Linked DNA regions of Homo sapiens: region 2 is linked to region 1. Evidence: promoter capture Hi-C in 16 types of primary human blood cells and fetal thymus (Javierre and others, 2016). All regions are on one chromosome and are shown on one strand. The core of a region is centred on a gene start or on the middle of the fragment in contact, and the rest is flanking DNA. Distances in the headings are between cores, read along the strand shown.

What was found. The method cuts DNA at HindIII sites, captures the fragments that hold promoters and counts their contacts. A CHiCAGO score of 5 or more calls a contact.
Region 2: a fragment that was not itself captured here is called in contact with the fragment with the promoter of ERP44 in region 1 in 1 of 17 cell types (neutrophils); the score reaches 5.5 in neutrophils.

What each region holds. Positions count from the first base shown.
Region 1 is chr9:100,097,453-100,101,176 of GRCh38, reverse strand. ERP44 (endoplasmic reticulum protein 44) reads left to right here and starts at 2,177. Exons shown (of 12, transcript NM_015051.3): 1 at 2,177-2,393. The coding sequence starts at 2,337. INVS (inversin) reads right to left here and starts at 1,934. Exons shown (of 17, transcript NM_014425.5): 1 at 1,761-1,934. RefSeq lists a silencer at 1,661-1,870 and enhancers at 2,111-2,250, 2,261-2,330. The HindIII fragment of the contact is 16,824 bases long and covers 1-3,724 here.
Region 2 is chr9:101,402,688-101,406,393 of GRCh38, reverse strand. All of the region lies in intron 2 of ZNF189 (zinc finger protein 189), which reads right to left. Among named protein-coding and RNA genes, the nearest start is that of ZNF189, 5.7 kb to the right of the region's middle. The HindIII fragment of the contact is 1,081 bases long and covers 1,773-2,853 here.

The DNA.
Region 1 (3,724 bases), core at 928-3,427:
ATCAGAGTTTTAGGCACATCAGAACCACAAAAAAAGTTCTTTATACCCTTTGAAAAATACACTAAAAATGTGATCTCTGTTTTATATATATGTGTGTGTGTGTATATATTATACATATATAAATTATATATACACATATATAATATATATAATATATATACATATAATATATATATTATATATACATATATATTATATATATAATATATATTATATATATAATATATATGTATATATATTATATATATTATATATATACATATAATATATATACATATATAATATATATTATATATACATATATAATATATATATTATATATACATATATTATATATATATTATATATACATATATTATATATATTATATATACATATATTATATATATAATATATATTATATATACATATATTATATATATTATATGTACATATAATATATATATTATATGTACATATAATATATATATTATATGTACATATATAATATATATATTATATGTACATATATAATATATATATTATATATACATATATAATATATATATTATATATACATATATTATATATATTATATGTACATATATTATATATATTATATATATATACTTTTTACTTCATAATTCTTAGCACTTAGCACAGTAACAGGTATATAGCCAGTACTCAGTAGATGTTTGTTGGATGAAAGGTCACAGGCTGAGTGCTAAGTCCAAAAAGTGAGCAGGATCAAAGTTTAATTTCTTGAATAATGAGTTCATACTTACAAGTCTCTGCTCTTTTAAAATTTCCCATTTCAACTATCTTTGGGCTCTGTCAGGGGCGTGGACAAGAGATAGGAGCACTAGTCTAGGAGTTAGGCCGCCTTGGTAAGAGTATTGGCTCTATCACTGTCTAATTTTGTCACCCTGAGAAAGCCATTATGCAGGGCTCTTTTTTTTTCTTAAGAAAAAATGTATTTTTTGCCCCTTTAAGAAAATAAATCATTTTTTATAGAAAAAAGTCAAAACCACTTTGATAAAGTGCTATAAAATGCAAAGGTGTCATCATCCTTGCCTAATTATACAACAAGCCCGTGTAATAAATGCTCTAATAATTATAACCGTACAAAACTAGAGGTACTGCAGTCACACTCATAGGAAGAGTAATTCTGATTAGGACTAAAGGGTTGGTTGTTCGGGAAGTTCTCAGAGATGGTGACATTTAAGATAGCATTCCAGAGAGAGAACGGGTAAGGCCATTCCAGGCAGCAGGAAAGCTGAAGCAAAGGCGGGAGCAGGGAGAACCACAAAAGCACAGTGTGCCTCCTGGGTACTAAGCAGAGATCGCGTGGGCTCCTGGACCTCACTGAGTGTTTGCAGAAGAAGCCGCAGAGCTACCTGGGGCCAAGTTAGGATCCTCGACTGCTTTGCTAGGGAATTTCGTAATTATACTGGAGGAGCGATCCACGCCTTAGCAGCAATCACTCACACAGTTTTCCAGTTTACGACGTGCTATCCCATCCCGTACCACATCTACTCCTTACAGGAGCCCTCAGAGACAATCAGGGATAAGTCATTGACTCATTCAACTGAGGCCCCGAGTGGTGGCTCTGACTTTATAATGCAGGAATTAGAGCAGAAAGAAGAGGCAGCGGGCGAGGAGGCCAATGATGGAGGCTCAGGCCACAGCCTAGGCCAGGAAGGCCGTGAGTCTGCAGCAGGGGCCAAGGCGGTGCGGACCGAATGATCTGAGCCTCCCCAGCCAGGCCCCCTCCTACTCACCCTCGCCTCCTCCAGGACTGACGTCCCGGGGGCGGCTCCAGGAGGCGCAACCCGGACCGGGCCGCCCCTCCTGCCGGGCCGGTACACTATATCCAGCCAGGTCAGACCCCACGGCGCTGAAGCTAGCCGAGCCCCTCAAAAGGCCGCCCGAGGCTTTCGGCCGCACATCCTTCTGGGAATTGTAGTTCCCATCCTCTGAAGCACCGCGTACACCCGCCCTCCGCCCTTCTATCCCACAGGACCCCGCGCGCAGAGGACTCAGTGGACCGGGGCCGAGAGCCCAATGGGAAAGGAAGTTCTAGATGACGGACGACGTGCGGGGTGAGGCTAGTGCAGGACTACATTTCCCGAAGTGCACCGAGGTGGGCAGGACCCGGAAGTGAGGGTGTGAGAGGCCTCTCTGGAAGTTGTCCCGGGTGTTCGCCGCTGGAGCCCGGGTCGAGAGGACGAGGTGCCGCTGCCTGGAGAATCCTCCGCTGCCGTCGGCTCCCGGAGCCCAGCCCTTTCCTAACCCAACCCAACCTAGCCCAGTCCCAGCCGCCAGCGCCTGTCCCTGTCACGGACCCCAGCGTTACCATGCATCCTGCCGTCTTCCTATCCTTACCCGACCTCAGATGCTCCCTTCTGCTCCTGGTGAGTGAGGGAATGACAGACCCATCGACAAACGCACGAACGGCCTCCGGCCCTCGCCCAGGGGGAACACTGCTACTCCTGCCCCTGCTTTTCCGTCTTTTCCTGCAGTGTTTTGGAGTGCACCCTCCCCCGCTGCCCTCACTCTCGCCTGTCGGCTTCCAGGCGCGGAGTCCCCGAGGCCTGAGAAACCAGTGTCGGGGGAGAATGGGAGAATTAGCCCTGAGGGACTGATACGTAGTCACGGCGTAGGAGCTTCCCCTTCTCCCCGAAGTCCGGGGGTTTCGGTTTCGAGGGCTAGTGGACCTGGTGGTAGCTTGAATCGGAAAAGACCAAGCATAGACCTAGCGTTCCTTCCCACCCTCTCCATTTGGGAAGAGTGTGAGGTCGACAGGTGCTGGGGTTGTGTGACTCTCACTGGGTCTAGATCCCTGAAGCGGTGCCCGGGTTGGCAGATCCCTCTGTTGTGGCTTGATGCGATTGGTTGGGAACCCGGAACTGGAGACTGGTTTGGATTCCACTGGGAGAATAGAGTTTGAAGGGTGGAAGGTGTGGTTACCTGACAATCTCAGCTCAAGGCCTCCCTCAAATCTTATTGCAACGTATTTCCCCATGGAAGCAGATTTCTTCTTCATTGCGCCTTATTTGAATATGCATTCATTCCTAACTGCCTAACCTGCTCAGCATCATCCCATCTTAAAAGAATCTTTCCCTAGTCCCTCTTGCCCCAGAGTACGTCTTGAGTGTGCAGACTAATTGATCCAGGCTTCAGGTCAAATTGAGACAAAAGCGAAGGACTAAACACGTATGGCAAAATGGCTTATATTTAATTGGGCTGTTAATTATAATGTAATATTTGAAAGTACCTTAATTGTAGTAGATTTTTAGAAATTCAGATTTAAACATTAAGAACTACTTTCTTTACAATTTAAGAAACGATTTAGTGACGCATATGAAGTCACACAGCTAGTTACAGGCAGAGCTGGGATTAGAAACAAGTCTCTTGACTTCCAGTGCTTATTCCGCCATATCCCATTAAATGTTTAATATTTGTGTTTGAAATAGTTCTTTCTTTTCTTTTGTCACTTGGACCTTTTCGGAAAAAGCACTGTAAAAAACTAAATGGCATGTCAAAGTACTTTTGAGAACAAAAAGTTGTGTATAAACATTGTAATATTAAATGATAGAGTGTCTTATTGCCACTTCTTATAAGTATACAACAGTGAATGACTTCTGTATCGAGGAAAATATTCTGTATAGTGTTGTTTCTTGGTGATTTCATTATACACTGTGATACATTTTTCCTTCTAGAAGTGTTAGAATAATACCATTAT
Region 2 (3,706 bases), core at 1,064-3,563, 1.3 Mb before region 1:
TTACCGATCCTACTCACCTCTGGGCATTTGCTTAATTATCCCGTCTTTCCTCTTTCTTCAATACACACTCTCTATTGACACTTTCCTACCATTACATAAATATGTCCAATTTTATCTTGAACCTGAAATCCTTCTCTTTATGAAAGCCAAGCATTGAAAAAAAATCTTAACACCGAGGTTTTCTATTTCTTATGTTTTCCAAGCCCAACCTCTTCCTATTCAATCTATTCTGCAACCTGTGGCGAAATCTGGTTTCTGTTTCCAGCATCTAGAGAAACTTCTCATTAGATTACCAATGACTCAAATAAAAATAAAACGGGCATTTTTTTTTTTTTTTTGAGACAGAGTTTCACTCTTATTGCCCAGGCTGGAGTGATCTTGGCTCACTACAACCTCCACCTCGCGGGTTCAAGCAATTCTCCTGCCTCAGCCTCCCAAGTAGCTGGGATTACAGGCACCCGCCACTGTGCCTAGCTAATTTTTTTGCATTTTTAGTAGAGATGGGGCACCATGTTGGTCTCGAACTCTGACCTCAGGTGATCCACCCACCTCAGCTTCCCAAAGTGCTGGGATTACAGAAGTGAGCCACCGTGCCTGGCCTAAAATGGGCATGTTTCAGTCCTTATGTTATTCAGCAGCATCTAACACTGTTGACCACCCCTATTTCTTGACATTATCTGTTTTTGGTTTCTACACTACCACATTCTTTTATTTCCTTCCCTACTTCTTTGGCCTTTTCTGATAAATTTCCCTCATTTATTTCTTTTCCTTTGTCAACTGACTTTTGTTATTGTTACCCACATTTACATCCTTACTTGTTCTGTATATACACCCTCCAGATATCTCCAGTTAAATGCCTCACAAAGGGCTCACAATTAACATGGTCATCATCATCTGCTTTCATGCCTTTCCCCACCTTTAATTATCTCTTGAAAGGCACCATCATCCATTACCCTATAGTCTCAAAGCAGCAATCATCCTGTATTTCTCCCTTCTTCTCACGTTAATCAATCATCCAAATCCTGGATTTCTCTCTAGCACCTATCTTTCATCCCTCACAATCATGTAGCTGCCTTATAATCTTTGGCTCCAGTCTTTAGGCTGCCAACACATTATATATGCCTTACTGATTCTAGAAGAGATCTCTATAAAACAGAATTCTACTCAAGTCATCACCTGTAGATTTAGCAGCTCCCCATCACCTTTAAGATCGAATCAAGCTCTTTGCTATGATACAACTCTTCATGACACAGTCTCTAAGCCTCAAGTCATGTTCCTACCTACTTTATCATACTTTATGTAGGCAAATTGTTTGTGTTACAGTCTTTCATGTCTTATCTTCACATATCTCATTTACTAAATGTCCCTCAACACTGTTTACCTGGCAAACTTTTGGTTTTAAGATTCAAAGCAATCTTTAAGTTTAAAGCAACAGTTCCTCTACAAAGCCTTTACTAAGTCCACTAGACAGATTCAGGTGTTCTATTTTTTTATTACCAGCCCTCGACCATAATTCTATTATTGCTATGATTACACTGCATTTTTTAACTGTTCGTTATTTGTCTCTTCCACTAGATTGTAAATTCTTTGTGAGAAGGCAGTCTCTTCAGAATATTTGTTCAGTTATGTTAGTTGGATTAGTGGATACTGTTCTGTCAATTTCATTCAAATGAATAAGACAAAATGATCATTACTTGAAGATGATATGAATATATACCTAAAATTCCTGGAAGAAGCAAATGAAAATATAATCATAACAAGATTAAAAAGCTTGTTCTTAGTACAAAAAAAGTTAGTAAATATTATACAGAAATGATATAAATGCTTCACAATAGTAACAAAAAACATAAAACCTAGGAATAAACATAAGAAATGTGTAAGATCCATAAAAATATTCCATACAATTTTTCTGAAAGACAAAAGGATACAGTTAAACAGAGTCAACCAAATGGCTAAAGAGATTCAATATTATAAGGATCTCAATTCCTTTCAATCTATGAAACTAATCATTCCAATCAAAAATCACATGAACCAATAAAAAAGTAAATAAATCTAAAGTTTAGAAGAAGGCAGACTAGTGAAGTACATCCTGAAAAAGATTATTAAAGAATGACTTATATTACCAGACACAAAATGTAATATATTGTTAAAGCGAATAAAACAATGACATTCACATAAAAATAAATAGGTCAACAGGATAGGCAGGTGAAAAAAACAAGAGTAAGGCTTCCACACAGAGCAGCCTTGAAGTGACTATCCATTAGATCTGGGCTTGGCAATGCTTATGCAATATCTTCCCATCCTGTGGTCATGGCCAATTTTTCTACACAGATAGTTGTCTCAAAGTGGGTTTCGCCAAAGAACCTGGAATTAAAACTGAAATCGCTAGTTATTCGGAAGGTAGCTAGAATTGTAACCTATCAAACCAGAAGCCAAAAGGACAGAAGAATGTGAACATAAGGAGAAAAGACTAAACCGTCAAGGAGAAAAAAGAGATAAGACAGTGTTATAGACTGAATGTTTGTGTTCCCACCAAATATTCATATGGTGAAGCCCTAATCCACAATGTGATGATATTTGGAGGCGGGGCCTTTGGGAAGTAATTAAATTTAGATGAGGTCATGAAGGTTGGGCCCCCATGATGGGATTAGTGTTCTTATAAAAAGAGGAACAAAGACCAGAACGTTTGCTCTATCTCTCTCCCCTTCTGCCATGTGAAGACACAGTAATAAGGTGGCAATCTGCAAGTCATTGCGGAAAGAGTCATTAAAATTGAAGATGTCAAAGATCTGAGAAATTAAGCTATCAACTGTATCATCGATGTAGCTATTAAAGTTTTTTTAAAAATAAGCTTGAAAAGGAAAAGTATGAATGAAAAGCCAAAACTATAAAGCTAGACAAGAGTTGCATTATGAAAAGCAGTTAAGATGATGTAGAAGAGAATACTGCATTGCAACAGTAGAGTAATAGTGATCTCTCATCAAGGGAGCTCTCACCAAAGGGATGGAGATAGTGTTTATTGAGGAGGATGAAAAGACTGTGGGAGGAGAAATGATGAATATGGAAAGCTGTATTTAAGCTGAAATAAAGAAGACAGCCTACAAGTAGAAGATCATCTGTGGGCACACTGTCACACCTTGTCCATATGGTATTTACATGCTGCAGTTCTAGGAGAAGGCAGGGCCAGGCACTTACTTGGTTCTATCAACCAGAATACCATATGTATGGATAAGCTGGCAGTGACTGAGAGACAACATGGTATATTAAAACACACACACACACACACACACACACATATCAGCAGCTGATATGGCTGAAGACTAAAGTGGTGTGCAGGAAAAAACAGGTGAGGCAAGAAAGATAGGCAGAGGCTATACTTGGAAGGTCCTATATGATAAGAAATTAAGATTTTTATCATTTAAGCTATCAGGAACCATCAGAAGTTTTACACAGTTAACTAATACAAAATCACTTTGGTGGCAGTAGAGAGAATATATTTTAAAAAAGGAGACTAGTGGCAAGGGGGTAGTTTAGGGGTTAATGTAATAATCCAGTTAAGAGATACTGAGTCTTAAGTTAACTGTACTTACTCAGTCATATAAATATTTAAGAAGCATATAATATAGGCCTGGCTCTGTGCTAAGTGCTGGAGAAATCAAATGCAACAGGTATATCTACCATCCTCACAGTAATCAGTGAGGTTAGA